2 separate regions of the Homo sapiens genome follow, and region 1 is linked to region 2. Evidence: promoter capture Hi-C in 16 types of primary human blood cells and fetal thymus (Javierre and others, 2016). All regions are on one chromosome and are shown on one strand. The core of a region is centred on a gene start or on the middle of the fragment in contact, and the rest is flanking DNA. Distances in the headings are between cores, read along the strand shown. Region 1 holds the start of B3GLCT (beta 3-glucosyltransferase). Region 2 has its middle 210 kb from the start of LINC02344.

Region 1 (5,119 bases), core at 1,225-3,724, 2.3 Mb after region 2:
GCAAAGTGCTAGTATTCTATCCAGTCCATTCGCCCTGTTCATATGAGAAAACTGAAGCTCAAAGCCACTAAAAGCCACACAGCTAACAAATGGTAACCTGGAGGCCTGACTCAATCTTCTCATTCTGAAACTGGTGCCAGACTTTAGAACCAAAGTTGCAGTGAACCGTGTCTGTATATGCATGTGGGTTTAAAAGAAATTTTCTATATTGACTTTTCTCTAAAAATATAAACAAATATGCTCTAGTTTGTGGGGAAACTAAACTATATAGTCAGGCCAATCTTATATGGGAATATTTAAGGTATTTATAAACTATCAAGATTGTTCACATGTGACAGAACGCCTGTCACATTCTGTTTCAGCAAGATTCCAAGAACATCGTAAGTGGGGACATCTTTATACGTGTCGGTGCCCTTCCCCTAAATCGAAGCAGAGCTCCATAAAAGGTATTCATGATTCACTTCAGACCTCGAAGAATACAGCCTCCCGTCTGTGCCAACCCATGAAAGCCAGTTCCCAAAGGCCAAATGTCTCACAGGGACCTTTTAATGCATTTTATGTCTTATTTATTGTGCTTATCTGACAACTTCACAAGGCTAATAGACATCTCTAAAAATGTGTTGACATCTTAGTGCATTCTGAATGTCCTTCAGTGTATTATCAAATTTGGACAGTGCAAATATTCCCCTGGGGGTAATAAAAAATAGACACAGCAATACAAATGTGCATTTCAGCCCATATGTTGTATATATTATATACAAATATTATACCCCCAGTACAGCATTATAAAGTGCAGTGCTATAAATAGAATACCAATTTCAGCTACCACCCACCCATTTGGTTAGTTGCAAAACATCCAGGCAACAAGCCAACTGATGCAGCCAGGAGTCACCCAGTCGCTTTCCCAAACCTCCAACCTCCCTTTCTCCCAGGGCTGCCACCCAGCAATGCCCTTCTTCCACTGAAGCCGATTCCAGCCAAATTCAGTCGCTCCCCAAGACCAACTACAGCCTTCTCTGCCGGAGGTGCCCTAATATTTTTAATTACACTGCTGCCTAATTAATCATGCATGTAAACAATTACCAACTAATCTTGCTCTTTTCCCACACTTACTGAGCGCCTATAGAAATGCCAGAAGTACACAAATGCAGCAAATTAATCCTTATTCAGAGAGCTTAAATACAAATAAAAACAGGCTGTCAAGGTTCCGGTGGGCTAACAAGAGCAGTGCGCAATAACGCTACGTCTTTTCCTAAACTGCACCATTCTGCCATTACTAAAAAATCTGAAATCATTGCCTTTTCACACCAGCAAGTCTGGGTTAGAGGACAAAAACTCTGTAGCAGTCTGAAAAAAAAATAATTTTTCGCTCAAGCTTTCAAAGTTGAACAAATCTGATCATGAAAGTCAATTACAAGGCTGCTTTTTTTTTTTTTTTAACTTTTATCACATCGTTTTAAGATAAAGGGGGGAAATGCCCTTGCGAGGAGAAAAGAAATAAAAAAGAATGGGCATTACAGCAGCAGGAGACCGGGCAAGCACTGCTCTGCTCGCAGACGTGTCCCCTGATGTCCCCAGCGGAGACCCGAGACAGGAGCAAGCCTCCCCGCCGCGCCAGCTCCCGCGGAGGCCCAGCGGGCGCCCCTGTCCTCCTCCGGGTCGGAATCCGGGAAGGGCTGGCGCCGAGCTGGCCGCTTATCCTCAGGGGCCAGGGCACGTCCCGAAGGCCCTGCGGAGGGGCGCGCGGACACCGGGACCGCAGTCCTCGCCCCCGGGGGTCGAACAGGAGCCGCGGGGCCTCGAGGGCCGCCTCGCCGGCTCCCGTCCAGCCTCCCGCCCGGCGCGGGGCGCGCAGGACGGCGGAGCGCGGGCGGAAGGCAGGGGGGCGGGACCGCCGCCGCCGCCACTCGCGCTGTTGCAAAGTTTCTTCGGTGGCACAGTTCCTGCGCGCTTCCTGTGGGGGCGGCTGCTGCGCCCTCGCCGCCCCGTCGCCCGCCGGTTCGGGGCGGCAGAGGCTGGGAGACGCGAGTCTGGGGCCGGGGCGGCAGCGGGGACCCAAGACCGAAAGGGGCCGAGCGGGCACGCCTCGGGTCCCGGGCCCGGGTCCCACCTGGGCGCCGCGAGAGGGCGCTGCTGACGGCGCGGCGCGGCGGGGACCGGACGGCGGGACGCGCGCGCCGGCGGGGCAGGGCTGGGCCGCCCTGCGCCTCCCTCCCCGCGCCGACCGGGGCACGGGCGACTGTGCCCGCGAACCCCACGCCTCGCCCTTGCGCGCCTGGCCGCCCGCTACTTACCCAGGGAGCAGGTGAGGAGCGCGAGCAGCGCCGGCGGCGCGAGCAGCCACCAGCAGGCGGGCGGCCGCATCCTGGCGGCGGAGGCTGAGCGCCCTACCTGGGCGCGGGGAAGGGAGACGCGCGGGGAGCGGAGCTGCGCCGCTGCCGCCGCCGCCCTGCCGCCGCGGCTGACCCTTCTCTGCCGGCTCCCCTCCTCCCTCCGTCTCCGCCGCGCCATCGCCGGCCGCGCCCTCTGGCGGCCGGGAGCGGGAGCACCCCTGTGCGCGCTTCCAGCGTCTGCCGGGCTGGCGGCTGCGGCTGGTGTCCGGCCCGACGGGCTGCTGCGGTAGAGGTGGCCGCGGCTCTGCCCTCACGGCGCCCTCCTTCGAGGCGTCTGACCTCTGCCCCCTCCAGCCACCAGCCTCCACCCCTCCTCTTCCTTTCTCCTCTGCGTCCCTCCTGACCTAGGCCGCGTCCCCTGCCTTCATGCCCTCCCACCTTACCGCGTCACCCCCATCAGTAGTTCTACCTGTGAAGTGGAAGCGAGCAGTAATCACTTTTCCTCCCTGCTAATGTATTATCTGCTGTGGAAAAAAAAATGTAATCAATAGTTCAACTCTTAATATTGTTGGCACCAATGCTCTACTTTGATGAAGGTGTTTTTAATCAGCTCAACTAATTTACTTAATATCCCCTTTAAATGGAATTTGGCCAATAGCCTAGGTCTGGGATTTGGCTTTTAAACAAGTTTGTGTAAATGTAATTTTCTATAAATGTAATTTTAAGTGTTCACCATAATGGAAGAGAGTGGGTGTAATTTTATTCAAAATATAAAAATTAATTAAACTGGAATACAGAGAAGTGGAGCAATGTGGGAGTGCCTCCTGTTCCCGCAGGACTGCGAAGGGCTTTCCTCCCCAGCCCGGTAGAGTGGTGGCCCTGATAGGGGACTGGTCCTGTTGTGTTGTGTGGTGCACTGAAGGGGAAAGCATTACAAGTAAGAACTAGAGGCTCCCTTCAGTGGTTCTGAACTCCTTCGTGCCTCCCTCAAGCCTTGGCTCACTTCTGTTTCCAAGGAAGTGCACAGGACCAAGTGCTTTTCCCAGCCCTAGTTTAGCCCATGACCTCTTGAAGGCAGTTTCTATGTTTTCCTTCATATTTACTCATTTGTTGGATACCTACTATGTGACTGCAACTCTGCTAAGCACCCTAGGAATGCCAGTATCTTTCACATGGACATACAACATTCACCTACTTGCTAAACATTTAAGGAGGAGGAGGCCCTGGGAGTACAAGTAGGATGGCCCTGGGAATACAAGTAGGATGTCCTGGAGACAGAGAAGCAGGTGCTGAATAAACATTTGTAGGCTTGAGCCCTCTTAACTTGAATGCGTTTAGGGGACTTAGGCTCTAATGCATTAGGACAGTATTGTCTGCAATTGTGCAATACCTGCTGGGATTGTTTTGAAAAGGAGGCCTGGAGACAAAGAATTTTCTCTCTGTGTGGTTTATATTGACTTCTTAAAACTGGGAACTAAATATTTCACGTGTGATCCATTTAGTGTGAGTGCAAATAGTTCCCTTTTGTTCCATTCGCCCAAGGTTTATGGTCTCTTGTCAATACCATTTTGATGGGAGGAAAAAGAAATGTAGGGATCCTTCCATTTCATTTCTTAGTGAAGCATTTCAAATCTATGGTTGACTGAATTCATTGCTTTTATCCTTGGGAAATTCTCAAGCTTACCTGCCTAGTAGTTCTAGATTGTTTCCAATTTCCAAAGCTGTTTTCGCTTTTTTCCAAGAAAATATTCCTTGCATATGTGGGGTAGTAAACATTTAACCAAACTGTTTAATTAGACACAGAAGACTAATAAGCAGGGTCAAATGCCTACTCCACGTGGGTAAGCAACTCCTGGTGCTTAATCAATGTTTTCATGGAAATTCATCATGTTAGAGTATTACTATGTTCCAGAACAAGGTGTGGAAAATTAAGCCCTAAGGACAACAGAGAACACACCGTTTAAGTAATAAACTTGCCCTGGTGTCCTTCCTTTCCACAGTAGACATAGATAAATGGCACATTACAAAGCTCCATAACTCACATTTTAAAAAGAATTGCCTTTCACTTACTCTAGTCATATGATAAATGGACTTGCTGGGAGTTCTCTCTCCCAATCACATGTCAGGAGAGTTTCCTAGAGCAACGTACTGATGAGGATACTAACAGATACATGATAGGCACTGCTTGCCTATAACATTGACTGTAAAGGAACAACTCTAAGTAGAAAAAAAATAAATCCTATAAACTTTAAGATTGTGATATGAAAACAAGCAAGCCATCTTCTTGGGATTTACTCAATCCCAGCTGTCACCTCCATGCTGGCCCCTGAAACTTTCTTTGTTGAGGGACAGGGGAAGAAGCAAGGAGCCATCTTTTGTTGGGGAAGGCACTGTCGCAACCTGGTTAAAACAGACTGGTAATTTTACAGATAATTTTCTAAATACTAAAGGAGAACATAAAGACATACTAAAACCACTGAGAGCCAAATAATCTAATGAACAAGTTCCAAACAGATGGTTTCTGATCTTACAACAGTTATCCTTGAGGCCCAAAAGGCTGAACTCCATTCATTCAAATGATAGGGAGCACCTCTAGCTGATGTGCCCTTTGCTAAGCTCTGGGGCAGATATTAAAGAGCATAAAACATGGTCCTGGGCCCAAGAACTCACGGTCCAGTTTGGGAGACAAAAATGTTCATAACTAACTTTGCTACCTTCTTATAAATGCTATGGCATGCGTAGATCAGCACACTTTGGAACACACAGGGAAAAAAAAATCTCTCAGG
Region 2 (5,146 bases), core at 1,183-3,682:
AAAAGCTCTAACAACTAAGACCCCTTTAACAGCTGAATCAACTTAATTCTTCTTAGACAAATGCTTTTTGCCACAAATATTCATTATACATCCATTTACATATTATGTTCTTAGAAAATAAGAGAAAAAAATCAGAAAAGGAGGCTTCCACATAATAATAGGAATTATTTTTGAAAGAAAATCTGACGTGGGAATCCTAATCTAATTACTGTATCAAAGTCAACCAATTCTTGGTTGAAAGTAAACTACAGTATCATTTCATAAGAGTGTTTACTGATGAAATTAGCCAGGATAAATTGTAATGTTAACAGCCATAATAAATAAATGTCATAAAATACTAATTACTTTTAGTCAACAAAATAAGGTTATTTAACAACTGTCTTAGTCCATTTATTTTTCTATAAAGGAATACCTGAGGCTGGGTAATTTATGAAGAAAAGAGGTTTACTTGGCTCACAGTTCTGTAGGCTGTACAAGAAGCATGGTACCAGCAGCTATTTCTGGTGAGGGCCTCAGGCTGTTTCCACTTGTGGGTGAAGGTGAAGGAGAACCAGCATGTGCAGAGATCACATGGTAAGCGAGGAAGCAAGACAAAGCAGCAAGAAAATCGATAGGAGGGAGGTGCCAGGCTCTTAACAACCAGCTCTGACAGCAACTAATAGAAAACTCACTCATTATCACTAGGAGGGCATCAAGCCCTGTGTCAGGGATCCACCCCCATGTCTGAAAACATCTCCCATTAAGCCCCACCTCCAACACTGGGGATCAAATTTCAACGTGAGATTTGGAGGGATCCAACAAACCAAATGATAGCAATAATGCTCCCAAAATACAGCAGGTATATGAAATATAGCATTACTAATGAAGTGTCCTTTACATCTTCTCTGCCTGCTTCATTAGTGAATTTATTACAATAAAGTTTAAAATAAGGCAAAGAACATTCACCTTTCGGGCCAGGCACAGTGGCTCACGCCTGTAATCCCAGCACTTTGGGAAGCCGAGGCAGGCGGATCACGAGGTCAGGAGATCGAGATCATCCTGGCTAACACGGTGAAACCCCGTCTCTACTAAAAATACAAAAAATTAGGCCAGGCGCGGTGGCTCACACCTGTAATCCCAGCACTTTGAGAGGCCAAGGCGGGTGGATCACCTGAGGTCAGGAATTCGAGACCAGCCTGACCAACATGGAGAAAACTGATCTCTACTAAGGAAAATACAAAATTTTAGCCAGGCATGGTGGCACATGCCTGTAATCCCAGCTACTCAGGAAGGCTGAGGCAGAAGACTCACTTGAACCTGGGAGCAGAGGTTGTGATGAGCTGAGATCGCACCATTGCACCCCAGCCTGGGCAACAAGAGCAAAACCCCGTCTCAAATAAATAAATAAATAAATAAAACAAAAAAATTAGCCAGGTGTGGTGGCACACGCCTGTAGTCCCAGCTACTCAGGAGGTTGAGGCAGGAGAATCGCTTGAACCCGGGAGGCAGAGATTGCAGTGAGCTGAAATCTGGCCACTGCACTCCAGCCTGGGCGACAGAGCAAGCCTCCATCTCAAAAAAAAAAAAAAAAAAAAAGAGAAAAAACAACAAAAAAACAAAACCATGCACCTTTCCCTGATTTAAATGATTCATCAGTAATTATCCAAATACATGGTACTAGCCTATTAGGGAAATACCATGGTTTTAAGACAGTTGTTCTCAATCTTTTTTTTCTTCTTTTCACGAAGGCCCATTCAGGCTAGAGCAGAGAGGGGGAAGCTTACATCCAGTAAACAAAATAGCAGTGATTTAAATAAAACTGAGACCAGAAAACCGACTGCTTTCTACATTTTAGGAACTGATTATCATAAACATAAACTTATCTAACAATATCTGTATTTCTATTTGTAGCAAGCACAAAAGTTACAGTGTGCAGCACACTTTAATCACTGCGTGATTTAATTACTGTGTCAATAAAGGCAGTGGCACAGTCAGAATTTGACAGAATTGAGAAAAGTCCTGCTGAAAAGATGAGACAAGTTCTGAGATGATCATTTTTTATAATGTAAGCACTGTGTACATTTATAAATGGCACGGTAGGGATGGGAGTGGGCTGGGGGTAGAGAATTCCGTAAAACAAGGGAACTTGAGGAAATGCAAAAGACTGAAAAAAACCTGGCATCTTCCAAAGGGTAAAATTAGTATGATTGTTTAAACTATTTTGTCCTTAATTTTAGTCATTTCTAATTTAACAGCTAAAGAACAATTACTGTATAATAACTGAAATATTTAGTATACTTGGTATTACAGCACCCTCTATCACATGATCATATACAGAATACATTTCTATGAACTGGTTGCTTTAATCTGTGAACATTTATGTAGCTCTCTACTGGTTCTAGGGTTTAGTTTACTACTTCCCATCCACGGAGTCAAAAGGACTACTAACTTGTGCAGGCTTAGTATCACCAGTATATTTTAGTACCGTCTGTCCTGCAACAGCAAAAAGCATTATTGACAAAGCAATCCTGAACTCTAAATTATTCCAGGTGTGGTCCTAGTACCAACAGCATCAGAATCACCTGAGATTTTACTAGAGCTACACTAATCCAGCTGTATCCTCAGACCTTCCCTCCCAGTTATAACCTCTGGTGTTGAGGCCCAGCAATCTGTTTTAACAAGCCTTCTAGAGAATCTGGATGCATGCTCCAGTTTGAGAAGCATTACTATAGGAGAAATACAATCAAAGAGTCAAGTTAACATGTGCTATCTAAACTCTAAAGGAAATTTGTTTCATTATATATTTTGATATCCACAGCACCATTCCAATAAAACATTTAGAACAACTCTGTTAGTACTCCAAGATTACAGGAAAAAAAGAACATTATTAAAGGAAAATGTGTTGATTTTACTAACTTTGGGGAAATTACTTTTCCTTTCTCTGATTATCTAAAAGAAACGTGACATGCAAACGAATCTACATTGAGCATTTCTGAGGCTACCTTTCTGAAACTTCCATGGCCTATTTTAAAGCAAATTACTACATTCTGCTTCTCGATGGGTTCCTAACATACACAGCAGGCTTTTACAACAGCGCTTTAATAGGCCAAAGGAAACAAAAGCTTTTACAGCAGAGGCCAATGTAAGCCACAAAGCTCGTGTCATCTTCCTACCAGGCAATTAATACAGGGTCCCAGTCCTCAAAGATTAAAGAACTGATACGGGGAAGACTGAGAATGACCCAGCAACAACGCATAAGGAAGCAAAAAATAAAAGGACGCCGTTTCTTCTGGACTTAAAACTAGAGAAAGAACAGTTTCCGCTCCATTTTGGGTTTGTAAAGCTCCTCCTACAGGCAGCTTCCGCTTCAGAGTCGCCACAAAGTCCCTCCCGCGCGGGAACTCGGCGGGGCGGAGACTCGGGTCCCTCCCCGTCCAGGGCGGGAGAAAGGAAAGCAGGGGCCACGGTTTCTCTGGAAGGTTCCGAGAGAAGGGCGCGTGCCACCTCCGCGGGTGGCGGGAGACTCGGCACCAGATGGCGCTGCCGCACCGAGAGCCAGAGCCTGGGCCGCTGGGGAGACGGGAAGAGGCGTCACCGGATCCCTTCCTTTGCGCTCGTTGCCGGAAATGTGCGCTGCAACCAGCCTCTGGTCCCGGATATTAAGACTTCTGGAGGGTTCCCGCGTGAGGGCGGGGCCAGAACCGGAACCGAACGGCGACCGACGAGCCCCGGAGCGGAAACCCGGGGCGGCGCCAGCGGGCCCTGGTTGCTGGTGCGCGCGCCTCGTCTTGGTGGGAGGGCGAGGGGCGGGGTCTCGCCGTGCGCTTGCGCACTTTGGGGACGTAGGCGCGGTCTGCGTGTGCGTCTTTTTCAATGTTTGCACGTTTGCTAGGCAGGCAAGGCGGAAATGGTGGCGTAATGGGTTTTGTTTTAAATCCCGCCCACGGGGTTTGGGTTTCTGGCTGTGAGTCAGGTTTCTGGAAGGCTTTATGGAAAATTAATGGTATAAGAGGTAAAACTGGATCTGTACTGTTTTCTTAGTCCTTAGCGATCCAAATGCAGTCTGGGTGCGGTCTCAGTGCTAAGATGGACCCAGCCTTCCCCTCTAAATCTTAGTGAACCGGCTTGATCCCCCGGTCTGTTCATCTTTCAGTGTTTATTCTGAGAAGGTAGGGGTGTCACAAGGAATAAAAAAGGCACGCAAACAAATAGACTACTCGTGTGGAACCAAAAACATTTTCAAATTATTTAAGAAAGCATGTCTTCGTGTTTTTTAAACTTTTTAGCAAGCGATTCTCTTAAGGAGTTTAGTTTTTAATTTTTGTCGATACACAGTTTTATATTCTGTGTTTTCTGGTGTGGCCTTGGTCTTTTATCAAATTTTAAAGGAAAGCCTCTTGTGCAGATGTGTTACAAAGAAAAATTTTGTCATTTTTTCACTTTTGAATTTTGGAGGACCATAGTAGTTTCTGAAAGTGCATTGGCTTTGTTTTTAGATGCTGCAAGGAAACAACCAAGTGTGTTGCAGAAATAAAATCTGTATGAATCTGCATCCGCTCCGTTTAATTTTAAACTAATTCCAAAAATGTCATCTGTGCAAAGTGCTCAGTTCTCCTGGAAAATTTCTTCAGCCTTGGTAAACACTTTTATCTGGATTTCAAAGCTCTTTGCAGTCCAGGGCCTATATAAAAACAATCCTTGTAAAAGCCAGAGGGAAAGGAATACAGGCTTTTAAGTAGATATTTTGAAAGAAACAGCAGTGGGCCGGAGGATATAAGAAAGATTGTCCGAAATTGCCAAATAAGTGTATTTCATTGTTTTTTGCTAAAACCGTTTGATAGTCTGGGTAGTTGGTACTGGAAAAAACGCTGCTGTGACGTGAGGAGTACTATGGCACCTGTTTATGTAGAAGTTAGGGGGATATTGCAATATCATTCAAGATTGGTCAGAAATAGGGCAAGAAGGAGGCAGGATATCCAAAGGGGAAGAAAAGGGGAAAATGTTGGAAGATACTAGAAAACACGTGAAAGAGGTCAGAGCTGAAGCTGTAATAGGTCTTCAAAGAGTGATCTGGAAGATTGCAAAATAGCTTTTAGACCCTAAAATCAAATGTGTGGAATATGGAATCAGTTTATTTCATCATTGCATACTTCAGCTTTGGCTATAT

Evidence for each region. Contacts are between HindIII fragments. The CHiCAGO score rates a contact against its expected background, and 5 or more counts as called.
Region 1: the fragment with the promoter of B3GLCT here is called in contact with a fragment that was not itself captured in region 2 in 1 of 17 cell types (non-activated CD4 T cells); the score reaches 9.1 in non-activated CD4 T cells.

Annotation. Positions count from the first base shown.
Region 1 is chr13:31,197,330-31,202,448 of GRCh38, reverse strand. It overlaps B3GLCT (beta 3-glucosyltransferase), which reads right to left and starts at 2,474. Exons shown (of 15, transcript NM_194318.4): 1 at 2,295-2,474. The coding sequence starts at 2,364. RefSeq lists silencers at 1,514-1,763, 1,824-2,723, 2,774-2,833. The HindIII fragment of the contact is 2,637 bases long and covers 1,378-4,014 here.
Region 2 is chr13:33,541,200-33,546,345 of GRCh38, reverse strand. It overlaps a transcript of STARD13 not described here. Among named protein-coding and RNA genes, the nearest start is that of LINC02344, 210 kb to the right of the region's middle. RefSeq lists enhancers at 3,230-3,339, 3,440-3,539. The HindIII fragment of the contact is 1,343 bases long and covers 1,761-3,103 here.